Linked DNA regions of Homo sapiens: regions 1 and 2 are each linked to region 3. Evidence: promoter capture Hi-C in 16 types of primary human blood cells and fetal thymus (Javierre and others, 2016). All regions are on one chromosome and are shown on one strand. The core of a region is centred on a gene start or on the middle of the fragment in contact, and the rest is flanking DNA. Distances in the headings are between cores, read along the strand shown.

Evidence for each region. Contacts are between HindIII fragments. The CHiCAGO score rates a contact against its expected background, and 5 or more counts as called.
Region 1: a fragment that was not itself captured here is called in contact with the fragment with the promoter of NPPB in region 3 in 2 of 17 cell types (erythroblasts and megakaryocytes); the score reaches 6.3 in erythroblasts.
Region 2: a fragment that was not itself captured here is called in contact with the fragment with the promoter of NPPB in region 3 in 1 of 17 cell types (neutrophils); the score reaches 5.1 in neutrophils.

What each region holds. Positions count from the first base shown.
Region 1 is chr1:12,031,624-12,036,134 of GRCh38, reverse strand. It overlaps MIIP (migration and invasion inhibitory protein), which reads right to left. Exons shown (of 10, transcript NM_021933.4): 10 at 4,090-4,413. The coding sequence ends at 4,327. Among named protein-coding and RNA genes, the nearest start is that of MIR6729, 4.7 kb to the right of the region's middle. The HindIII fragment of the contact is 5,792 bases long and covers 1-4,190 here.
Region 2 is chr1:12,094,584-12,098,674 of GRCh38, reverse strand. It overlaps TNFRSF8 (TNF receptor superfamily member 8), which reads right to left. Exons shown (of 15, transcript NM_001243.5): 3 at 1,458-1,574. Among named protein-coding and RNA genes, the nearest start is that of TNFRSF8, 33 kb to the right of the region's middle. The HindIII fragment of the contact is 1,350 bases long and covers 776-2,125 here.
Region 3 is chr1:11,857,450-11,861,710 of GRCh38, reverse strand. NPPB (natriuretic peptide B) reads left to right here and starts at 2,766. Exons shown (of 3, transcript NM_002521.3): 1 at 2,766-3,009; 2 at 3,242-3,497; 3 at 4,040-4,247. The coding sequence starts at 2,878. The coding sequence ends at 4,056. RefSeq lists a silencer at 2,201-2,367. The HindIII fragment of the contact is 3,284 bases long and covers 961-4,244 here.

The sequences.
Region 1 (4,511 bases), core at 45-2,544, 180 kb before region 3:
GTGCCCGGCCTTTTTTTTTTTTTTTTTTTTTTAAGAGAGATGGGGTCTTGCTATGTTGCCCAGGCTGGATTTGAGCTTCTGCCTTTTCTCACGTCCTCAGCTGACTGTCTCCAGCATGGTTAGGTCCAAGAAGACAAACTTCAGGCCGCTGCCTGGCCAGGGTCATGGTTCTAAGCCGTGGTGCAGGCAATGGAGGAGTCAGATCTTTGTTCTTATTTCTAAATGACCAACACAAGACACTAGTTTTGGGAGAAGTAGGTGATCTTGCCTTTTTCCTTTGGGATTTACAGTACATACTCAGAAGGCACAAAAAAAGAAAAGAATGCTATCAGTATGGGAGAGGGGGTGCATGTAAGGTGTATCAGGAGTGTGCCCAACCACCAGGGTCCTTTCATGCAGAGAAATGAAAGCATTTGTCCAGTAACCTTCACAAGGCAGGTAAGAAACCAGGCTAGAGGGAAAAGCCAAATTCTGGAACACAGTTCAGCCAGTACTTTTGAAAAAGTACAATACAAAACTATTTCAATGAAGAAAAACAATGCCATCTCTGTTTTCAGGAAGCTGCAATTCTCGCAGGGGAGAGAGCTTAGGCAATGCATCTCACCGTTAGTTACTTAATACTACTACTCAGGGGCCTTGGAGAAGAGCAGGAAGGCAGGCTGTGTGATGGCGGGGGCAGATCTGAGAACCCAGAGGTTCAGGGAGGACCTCTTGAAAGAAGAGACATCCAAGCTGAGACATGGATGGGGCAAGGGTGGGAGACAAGACGAGCATCCAGGGTGACCCCAAGTTGTAGGGGTGAAAGGCCCAGGAGAATTAAGAACAGCTTGCAAGTACCTGGGAGGGTAGTGGGGACATTCACGAAATGGAACTGTGTGGGTGCTGGAGAGCTGCAAGACATGGGCTCTGCTCTAGGGGCCTCCTGCCTGGAACCTTCATTCTTGGGGCCCCTTCAGCTTGAATAAGCCTGTATCCCATGCTGAAATCAGTCCTAAGAAGTGACTGGAGAGGCAGCCCCAGGCCCAGGGCTTTCTCAAGCACCTCCCTGCCGTTCTCCGGAGGCCAGGGGCAGTGGCTCATGCCTGTAATCCCAGCACTTTGGGAAGTCAAGGCAGGTGGATTACTTGAGGCCAGGAGTTTGAGACCAGCCTGGCCAACATGGAGAAACCCCTTCTCTATTAAAAATACAAAAATTAGCCGGGCATGGTGGCAGGCGCCTGTAATCCCAGCTACGCGGGAGGCTGAGGCATGAGAATCACTTGAATTTGCAAGGACGTTGCAGTGAGCCGAGATTGCACCACTGTACTCTAGCCTAAGCGACAGACCCTGTCTCAAAAATTAAAAAGAAAAAGAGTTCTCAAGCGACCAGCAGGAAGGATCTGGTTCAGGCTGTGGTCTTCCTACCCCCGCTGATGGCTCCAGATGGCCCCAAGGAGGCTGCCTTCTGAAGAGATAGCCAGGAACAGGCAGAGCAGAGGTCAGTACGTGGGAAGACAGGAGTTATTTGCCGCCACACAAAGAGGGTCTTTCAGGCTATGGCGCCACAGGTTTCATTCAGCGCAGTGTCTACAGACTTTGGGCTGTGGTTCTTGTGCATGGAACTTACTGGAAGCAAGCAAGCTGGAAGTCTTCCAAAGTTTCAAAAGAACTGTTTTTCCAGAGAAACCATGCACCCTGATGCATTATGGGCCCTGTGGCAGCATTCCAGCCTGTACGGTGATGGAAAAGAAGCATTTCTCTCTGGGTTAGGCTGTTGCTGTTTTGGACTTCTGTTATACACGGCTAAATCTGTAAGCTGATCTCAGCTTTGTAAATTTTGTAATTTTTTTTTTTTTGAGACAGAGTCTTGCTCTGTACCCCAAGCTGGAGTGCAATGGCACCATCTCGGCTCACTGCAACTTCCGCCTCCTGGGTTCAAGTGATTCTCATGCCTCTGCCTCCCAAGTAGCTGGGATTACAGGCATGTGCCACCATGTCTGGCTAGTTTTTAAATTTTTTACTAGAGATGGGGTTTTGCCATATTGGCCAGGCTGGTCTCAAACTCCTGACCTCAAGTGATCAGCCTGCCTTGGCCTCCCAAAGTACTGGGATTATATGGGTCAGTCACGGCACCTGGCCTAAATTTTGTAACTTTTTTTTCTTTTTCGAGACAGAGTATCACTGTCGCCCAGGTTGGAGTGCAGTGGCATGATCCGGCTCACTGCAACCTCTGCCTCCCAGGTTCAAGCCATTCTTCCGCCTCAGACTCCCGAGTAGCTGGGATTACAGGTGTGCATCACCATCCCCAGCTAATTTTTGTATTTTTAGTAGAGACGGGGTTTCGCCATGTTGGCCAGGCTGGTCACAAACTCCTGACCTCAAGTGATCCTCCTGCCTCGGCCTCCCAAAGTGCTGGGATTACAGGAGTGAGCCACCAAGCCCAGCCTGATTTTGTAACTTTTGTTTGACAGAAAGGCTTTGAATTATCTTCTCCCTGTGGCCAAAGAATTTCTAAAGAAACCACTGACTCCCACAGGTTCTCCGACTCAAAATTACACGTGGAACAACAAACCAAGCCCAACTGAAATATGGGACAAAGGACTTGACTTCTCCAAAGAAGATATACAAACAGGCTGGGTGCAGTGGCTTGTGCCTATAATCCCAGCATTTTGGGAGGCCCAGGTAGGAAAAGCCTGAGGCCTGGACAACATAGCAAGACCCTGTCTCTATTAAAAATAAACTAATAAACATGTACTCCTGAACTTAAGTTAAAAAAAAACTATTAATAAATATTTTTAAAATATACAAATGACCAATAAGCATATTAAAACATGCTCAACGTCACTAATCCTTAGGGAAATGCTAATAAAAACCACAATGAGATACACTTCACAGCCATTAGGATGGCTACTACCGAAAAACCAGAAAATAGCAAGTGCTGTTGACGATGAGGAAAAATTGGAACTCTTGTGCATCACTGGTCGGAAAGTAAAACAGTATAGCATTTCCTTGAAAAATTAAAAATAGAATTATTGGCCGGAGGTGGTAGCTCACGCCTGTAATCCCAGCACTTTGGGAGGCTAAGGTGGCAGATCCCTTGATCTCAGGAGTTCAAGACCAGCCTCAGTAACATAGTGAAACCCCTTCTCCACAAAAAGTACAAAAAAATTAGCCAGGAGTGGTAGCACGCGCCTATAGTCCCAGCTACCTAGGGGGCTAAGGCAAGAGAATCAATCACTTGAGCTTAAGAGGTCGAGGCTGCAGTGGGCGGAGATGGCCCCACTGCACTCCAGCCTGAGTGACAAAGTGAGATCCTGTCTCAAAAATAAAAAAACATAGAATCACCTTCTGATCCTGCAATTCCACTTCTGTATACCCAAAATAATGGAAAGCAGGGACTCAAACAGACTTTGTTTCTCCAGAGAGAGGGAAAGGTTTTTATAGCTTCATAAACTCCAGGAAAAAGCCCCAGGACAGCATAGCCCAGTTCCATCTCTAAGCCGAGAAACCTTAGAGAAAGTTCATGCCTCGTTTCCGCATTTATTCCACTTACAAAAACAAGAATTTCATATTATGCAACCAACACATACAAGAGGTGAGTGAAGGACAGGGCACTGCCTACTCTCCCAGACTGGACATCTGGGCTCTCTGCTAACCTTGCCTCCAACTCACCGCCCAGCCCTGTTTCCTCATCTGTCCCTGCTGGGGCTCTGAATGACCTGCGGCTCCCATGGCTGGGTGGAGGAGCCATGTGACCCCAGGGACTTCCAGAGAGCCCTTCTATCAATGGATCCCGGTTCTGGGACCAGGAAGGAGAGAGCTCAGTCACTCAACACGACTCACGGCTTCAGCGGAGGCCCTCGCTAAAATGACTTTTTAATAACCTTGGCCCAGCCTGCCCAGGGGCCCCCCCTCCCCCATCTGGTGGAGGCCACTACCCAGAGCTGGGGATCTGCGGAAGGAGCCACCCTCATGGTGACGGACACACACTGCCTAGTCCCAGTGGTTGCAGTATCTTCCTTCCACAGGTGCCAGGAGGGCAGGCTGAGAGGCCAGAGTGCCTTCTGGGCCTCAAGTGCATTAGCAGGATGGAACCAGCACACGTGGGACTTGAGCTGCAGAGCACTGAGCTTTATTTACAAACTTCCACAGAATCCCTCACCCTCCACCCCAGGGTCCTCCCTCTCTGGAACTCAGGCAGCAGACAAGCTTGGGTCCACCCACCTGCCCAACCTAGGACAGCTGGGCCTGAGCTGGGCGGGCAGGGGATTCCATCTCCTGGGTGCGCCTGCCAGAGGGGAGAGGCTGGAGGCGGCGGGAATGCTGTTCTCCCCCAGGAGTCAGTCCTCAGGGCTTCTGCCGTGGGACGTGGGGCCGAGGGACCTGGGGCACTGACCAGGTCGGGGTCGGGGGCAGCATCTGCATTGGTGAGGCCTGGATGGGGAATAGGGAAGTCTCAGGGGGGCCACTTGAAAGGGACAGGTCATCCCCAGTTCCAGCCACATTCCCTCCTGGATCTTGCAGTCAGGGTG
Region 2 (4,091 bases), core at 201-2,700, 240 kb before region 3:
GGAATTGCAGTATCTTTTGCTGAAGATACATTAATCTGACTGAGGTTTGGCATTCTTCTGTTTCACTTCGCTTTCTTTTTCTGATACTTTTGACTAAAATTAAATATTATCATTTTAATGCCATAAATATGTTGCCATTCTCTTAAAATTCCTTCTTTGTAAGTGTGTACAGGCTGTCTGGTTACTAACCTACCCATCTTTATACAGAGAGGTAGAGGCGTGTCAGCCATCTAATGATAATAGTAGTTATCTATAGATGGAGGGCTGGGGAGGGCAATGTTTGTTTTCTTCCTTACACTCTTTGTATTGCTTGAATTTTAAATAATAAATGTTTATAATTTTCATTTCATAAAATGCAGTCATTACTTTTAGAAATTCAAAGATACACCAGATAAATGCTAATAAAAAGAAAGAAGAAATGGCAATATTATTATTACTTTTCTTTCTTTTTAACCTTTGCTACTTCTTCCAGGAAGGAATAGCAATATTAATGCCAAACAAATGTGAAATTAAGGGAAAAGGCATTACAAGGAATGGAGAGGTATATTCATGTGGATAAAAAGCCCAACCCACCAAAAAAACATAACATTCATGAACATTTATGTACCTAATAACATAGCTTTGACATATATGAAGCAAAAATAGAAAGAACACAATGAAAATCTAATAGATGAACAAGTATACTGGGAGATAAGATTTTAACACATCTCTCAGAAATAAAGGTGATAAAAGTAAATAAGGGTACACATTATTTAAATAACACAATTAACAAGCTTAACTTAATAGATATGTAGAGAACTTTATACGCAACAAACAGAATACACATTTTAAAACACCCATACACTGAACACTCTGAAAATACATGATCATTTATTATTTATTAGACCACAAAAAGATCTCAACAAATTTCCCCCACCCTACCCCCCAAAAAAATCCACACAAAAATAAACACTAGATAGCACACAGACTGCATTCTCTAACCATAATAAGAGACTAACAATAAAAGGTCATACTGAAACAGTTTTCCTGGAAGTCCTGTGATCTTAGGAAAAGAACACAGCTCTTGGTGTCAGGCCACAACTCAAACTCCAGTTCTGCCACTTACCAGAGTTTTGTAACTTTGGAAAGGCCCTTAACCTCCCTATCCTCAAATTCCTCATTGTAAAGTAAGGATAAGCAAGAAATCCTCCCCTAGGGCTGTGGTGAGGATTAAACTCAAAAAAATGTGAGTCCTCTCCTTCAGGAAACATGTTAAGTCTCTGTGAAAGTATGGATGCAAAAGGTCATGGCTGATATCAAATCACAAATGCAGAGAGGTAAACTGAGGCACCAGGAGGACAATTCAGAGAACAGACATCAAATCATGATGCTCTCCACCTTCCAGATTCTTCACCTCTCCTCTGAGGACCCCTCATGCTCCCTAGAAGGAGGCCCTGGAGAGAGAACAAGGCCCTTACCTCGAGAACAAGTCACGCAGGCTGTACAGCGGTCGGCCTCATCCAGGTAGTAGTCAGGCTCACACTGCTTCCTGCAGTCAGTAGGCCTCTGTGGGCACTGCTGTGTCGGGAACAGCCCTGGGAAAAGAAACAGAGAAGCTCCAAGCCAGGCTGACTTAGCAAAGGCCTTATGACCCAATGCCCCACACCTCTCATCCCTGACGCCCCTCCCAGCTCCACCTCCAACCCCCGAAAACTGTCAGTCCAATTCTTGTGTTATGGATGGAAGCACTGACACCCAGGAGGGGCAACCCTCGCCTAAGGTCCCCTAGCAGGCAAGGAAAAGCAACATAGTTATAGAGAAGAGCTGGGCCTGGGATTCTAGGGCTGCCATTTGCCAATTGCGTGATAATGACCTTGTCAGCACTATTTGTGTGTGTGTGTGTGTGAGGGTACATAGTACGTGTATATATTTAGCACTATTAAGTTAGTAATAGGACCCACCTCCTAGTGTTCTTGAAAGGACTGAATGGACTGTGAAGATAAATATGTATAAAGTACTACAGCAGTCCCTGGCACCCAACAAGCACTATATGAGCACCGGTTGTCATCATTCTCTGCAGGGGTCTTATCTCACTGCAGGAATTAGGAGAGCCATAACTTTAGACCATGAAAGTCTAGACCAAGCTTGTCCAACCCACGACTAGCCGCATTCGGCCCAGGACAGCTCTGAATGAGGCCCAACGCAAACTCATAAACTTTCTTAAAACATTATGAGATTTGCGTGTGTGTGATTTTTTTTTTTTTTTTTTTTAGCTCATCAGCTATAAGCTAAAACACTATCCTTAGTGTTAGACTAAATTCACTTCTTCCACACTAACACTTCTTCTTCCAATGTGGCCCAGGGAAGCCGAAAGATTGGACACTCCTGCCACTAAGACCCTAATCCAGCCTGATTTCGAGATAAACAAGTCACCCAGCAATCGCTGCCTACCTTGCTTCCAGGATGAGCACATGACCCAAGCAGGCCAATCAGAATACTTCTTCCCATCAATATAATTGGCTCAGGATTGCCACATGACCCAAGCAGGCCAATCAGAGTACTCCATGTTCCTCACCACTGTGATTAGTTTAGTATGGGCACATGACCCAGGCATGCCAGCCAATAAGCCTCATCTCTGAGAGTTTCACAAAAGCAATCCAGAAAGATGTCCTCCGTTTATCTACTGGATTCCTGGCTGAAAGGGCTAGTTAAGCCCAGAGCTGCCCAGGTCATCACAGCCTGAGCGTGGGCATGGTGTGGGCAGGACTTGCCTAAGAAGGAGGTGACTCAGAAGCCAGCAGAAGCCAGAGTTGGAGAGAAATGGGCTCCTGAGGACATCGTTCAAACATCTGAATGTAGGGTGTCCATGGACTTCTCTGTTAGGGAGCCAATTATTTCTCTTTTGTCTTATTTGAGCCCTTCTGCCAGTTACAATGAAAATAGACCAGGGGGTTCCCAATATTTCTTGTGCCCCTAATCATTCTAAGGAAGCCTGTGGACACTGCACAGAATCATGAATTCATGAATAAAATATGCAGGAATGCAGAGGAATCCAACTACCTTGGAATATGGTTATCAAAGCATTAAACAAAATAACATATAGTAACAGGCCGGGTGCGGTGGCTCACGCCTGTAACCCCAACACTTTGGGAGGCCGAGGTGGGTGAATCACATAAGGTCAGGGGTTCAAGACCAGCCTGGCCAACGTGGTGAAACACCGTCTCTACTAAAAATACAAAAATTAGCTGGGTGTCGTGGCAGGCGCCTGTAATCCCAGCTACTGGGGAGGCTGAGGCAGGAGAATCACTTGAACCCGGGAGGCGGAGGTTGCAGTGAGCCGAGATCGTGCCATTGCACTCCAGCCTGGGCAACAGGAGCGAAACTCCATCTCAAAAAAAAAAAAAAAGATACAGTAACATGTGATTCTTTGTAAACTCATTAAATAATAGGGTAAAATAACTCCACAGTTTCAAAGCAATGATGAGCCCAGACAACATTTCACAACATCTGCAGCTACTGTAATATAATCTGAGAATATCTATGATTTCCGCTGAGGACAAAGCCGTGTACTACAATTACCACTGTGCTTTGTTGCCTTAATTCATAATGGGCGGAATTCATAAGTGAATTTTAGCTAGAAGCTAATTAAAATAATTGAATCCATTCAGGTTCATGAACCCTGTGAAATCTACCTTTGAGTCCATGGACCCCAGGGTAAGCACCTCTGCCCTAGAACAACACGCAAGAACCTCTCAAAAATACTAGCTTCGAGCCGGGTGCGGTGGGTCAAACCTGTAATCCCAGCACTTTCGGAGGCCGAGGCGCATGGATCATTTGAGGTCATAAGTTCAAGACCAGCCTGGCCAACATGGTGAAACCCCGTCTCTACTAAAAATACAAAAATTAGCCGGGCATGGTGGTACACTCCTGTAATCCCAGCTACTCAGGAGGCTGAGGCAGGAGAATTGCTTGAACCTGGTAGGCGGAGGTTGCAGTGAGCCGAGATCGCGTCACTGCACTCCAGCCTGGGCGATAGAGTGAGACTCCGTCTCAAAAAAAAAAAGCAAAAAAAAAAAAAAAAACTAGCTTCATGGCTGTCACTCTTTAACTCA
Region 3 (4,261 bases), core at 1,517-4,016:
TGGACATCTTTTGGGGACTATTATTCAGCTTACCACAGACATCATCAAATTTAATCCTTGTACATTAATGCTCCAACAGAGGTGTTATGATTAGCTTCATTAAATAGACTTGGAAAGCACATAGCATATGACAGGCCCTCGATAAATGTTGATGGGGCTGATCTGGTGTGAGAGTTAGTTGACAACATATCCTCCTCCCTGGACAGCAGGCCTTGGAGGATGTGTCTAGTTCTGTGTCTTCCTCAAGTCTTCTTCCACAGTCCCCTCCACTGGGGACAGATAGAAACTCTGTCAGAGTGTATGACACTTAGACACTTAATTGTCTCACTTGGGGTCACTTTGTCTCCCCAGTGAGATCACAATCTCCTTCAGTGTAAAGACCAACTCTCATGTACTACTAATTATTTGGCCCTTTATACAGTGCCACGGGCTTTTGCAGATATTATTTTTTTCCTTTTAGTCCTTGCAAGGACTGTCCATTTTGCCGAAGAGCAAAGTGAGGCTCTGGCGAGATGCAGAGTCAGTTTTTGATGGTGCTGGTTGATGAATCCTGCCTTGCTCTGAACCCTTTATCTCATGGTACTCAGCATGAGGGGCTTTCTGCACCCTCAGCAGCCTCTCGCCCACTGACTCCCCTCTGCACTTGGCTGAATTTTCTTACCTCTTTAGCTTCCTCTTAGCCTTTTGATACTCTTACTGTGGCATGCTCATGTGCACGCACACACACACACACACACACACACACACACACAAAACTACCCCAGCCCCCCAGAACATTTCCAGCACTGGTGTCTTTACACAGCCCTTACCCACCCACCTCCATTTATATTTCATCTGCAAAATGCTCATCTGAGCCACTTCCCATTCTTTCTCCTGCACACACAGTCACCACTAGAATTGCACATCCCCCACAGCACAGCTCCCAGAGCCTTCATAGATGACACGGGATTCACCTAAGCTTGCTTTTTGTAGAAACACCTTGTGATCACCCTGGCAGTGATTATGAGCTTCAGGTCTGGAATCAGACTGCTGGCTAGACTAATCAGACTGGTTAGAATCCAGGATTTATCATGTGTCAATTGTGTGACTTTTGGAAAGTAGATTAATTCATGAACACCATTTCCTCCTCTGAAGTGAGGAATAATAACCGTGCTTTTCTCACCTCAGGGGCAGATGCTATTTTTTAGGCAAGATCTGCTTAGAGGTCCCAGTTTCTTATTGCTGCCCTTCTCTGCTGTAACTCTTCTCCCCTCATAGACAGCTCCACTCCTCCAGCCTGCTGCTTGTTGACACCAATTCTCTGGAAGGGGAGTGACATCAGTCATATATGCTTTAGGGGGGTATTTAAGCTGCTATGACTCTTCTCAGGGGCATTTCTCTCCAAAGTCTCACTTCTAATCACCAGGCCACCTGCTAATGATAATTAGATCATGGGTGGTCAGATGAAGGAGGCACTGGGAGAGGGGAAATCCCCATATCTCTGGTATCCCAGCAAATAGATAACCATCATTCCAGCCATCCTTTTGTTTTCTTTCTTTCTTTCTTTCTTTCTTTCCTTCTTTCTTTCTTTCTTTTTTCGCTCTCTGTCAACCAGGCTGGAGTGCAGTGGCGTGATCTCAGCTCACTGCAACCTCCACCTCCTGGGTTCAAGTGATTCTCCTTCCTCAGCCTCCCGAGTAGCTGGGACTACAGGCGCCTGCCACCATGCCCAGCTAATTTTTGGTAATTTTAGTAGAGACGGGGTTTCACCGTGGTCTCGATCTCCTGACCTCGTGATCCGACCGCCTCGGCCTCTCAAAGTGCTGGGATTACAGGCGTGAACCACCATGCCCAGCCTATCCTTTTGTTTTCCATCCTGTGTTGGCTTGGTGGGGGAGAGGAGGTGTTGACACGTGGAGGACACACATATAAGGCATTCTTGGGTGACTTCGTCATCACTGGACCCTATCTCTCAAAATTCCAGCGAAATCTGCTCTTCCCTTTAAGGAGTGAAAGAAGGGTCAGCATTCCAGAAGTTCCTGGTCATACCCAGGCTTTTAATGAATTGCCACTGGGGAATCAGCATCCCGTTGCTGTAAGGACTATAAGATGGCGGATTGTGAGAGCATAGGGAAAGGTCTCGGAGGTCTCTTGTCCTTGCTCCACGCAGGTCTTTCTGGCCTGAAAATCCCGTTGAAGAGAGCAGCTCTTGAGAGTTTGCTCCAAGTTCCCTCGGGGTGATCAGCACCACGGACAGCGGCCAGGGCGCCCCCGAGGACCCGCAGGCAGGCAGGGTGCACAGCGGCGAGCAGGTGCTGCGCTACGTGCGGGCCAGGGAACTCGCGCGGGGAGGGGAGAGGCGCCGCGGGTGGCGGGGTCTTGGCCGGGGCTGTTTTCGCTGTGAGTCACCCCGTGCTCCCCGCGCTCACGTCGGTCCTCGGAAAGCCGGGGTCCTCCCTGCCTTTTCCAGCAACGGTGGGGTGGGGAGGCAGGAAGAAAGCGCCAACCTAGGACACCTGGACATTTGCAGGAAAGGAAGAAGCGGGAGACGGGGACTTGTCTGTGTCTCCAGCGCGTTCCTGCCCCCCGGCCCGACCCGGCCCATTTCTATACAAGGTCGGCTCTGCCCGGTCTCCACCTCCCACGTCGCAGGCGCGGAGGGGCTCATTCCCGGGCCCTGATCTCAGAGGCCCGGAATGTGGCTGATAAATCAGAGATAACCCTGCATGGCAGGGCAGGCCCGACACTCAGCTCCAGGATAAAAGGCCACGGTGTCCCGAGGAGCCAGGAGGAGCACCCCGCAGGCTGAGGGCAGGTGGGAAGCAAACCCGGACGCATCGCAGCAGCAGCAGCAGCAGCAGAAGCAGCAGCAGCAGCCTCCGCAGTCCCTCCAGAGACATGGATCCCCAGACAGCACCTTCCCGGGCGCTCCTGCTCCTGCTCTTCTTGCATCTGGCTTTCCTGGGAGGTCGTTCCCACCCGCTGGGCAGCCCCGGTTCAGCCTCGGACTTGGAAACGTCCGGGTTACAGGTGAGAGCGGAGGGCAGCTCAGGGGGATTGGACAGCAGCAATGAAAGGGTCCTCACCTGCTGTCCCAAGAGGCCCTCATCTTTCCTTTGGAATTAGTGATAAAGGAATCAGAAAATGGAGAGACTGGGTGCCCTGACCCTGTACCCAAGGCAGTCGGTTCACTTGGGTGCCATGAAGGGCTGGTGAGCCCAGGGGTGGGTCCCTGAGGCTTGGACGCCCCCATTCATTGCAGGAGCAGCGCAACCATTTGCAGGGCAAACTGTCGGAGCTGCAGGTGGAGCAGACATCCCTGGAGCCCCTCCAGGAGAGCCCCCGTCCCACAGGTGTCTGGAAGTCCCGGGAGGTAGCCACCGAGGGCATCCGTGGGCACCGCAAAATGGTCCTCTACACCCTGCGGGCACCACGAAGCCCCAAGATGGTGCAAGGGTCTGGCTGCTTTGGGAGGAAGATGGACCGGATCAGCTCCTCCAGTGGCCTGGGCTGCAAAGGTAAGCACCCCCTGCCACCCCGGCCGCCTTCCCCCATTCCAGTGTGTGACACTGTTAGAGTCACTTTGGGGTTTGTTGTCTCTGGGAACCACACTCTTTGAGAAAAGGTCACCTGGACATCGCTTCCTCTTGTTAACAGCCTTCAGGGCCAAGGGGTGCCTTTGTGGAATTAGTAAATGTGGGCTTATTTCATTACCATGCCCACAATACCTTCTCCCCACCTCCTACTTCTTATCAAAGGGGCAGAATCTCCTTTGGGGGTCTGTTTATCATTTGGCAGCCCCCCAGTGGTGCAGAAAGAGAACCAAACATTTCCTCCTGGTTTCCTCTAAACTGTCTATAGTCTCAAAGGCAGAGAGCAGGATCACCAGAGCAATGATAATCCCCAATTTACAGATGAGGAAACTGAGGCTCAGAGAGTTGCATTAAGCCTCAAACGTCTGATGACTAACAGGGTGGTGGGTGGCACACGATGAGGTAAGCTCAGCCCCTGCCTCCATCTCCCACCCTAACCATCATCACCCTCTCTCTTTCCCTGACAGTGCTGAGGCGGCATTAAGAGGAAGTCCTGGCTGCAGACACCTGCTTCTGATTCCACAAGGGGCTTTTTCCTCAACCCTGTGGCCGCCTTTGAAGTGACTCATTTTTTTAATGTATTTATGTATTTATTTGATTGTTTTATATAAGATGGTTTCTTACCTTTGAGCACAAAATTTCCACGGTGAAATAAAGTCAACATTATAAGCTTTATCTTTTGAAACTGA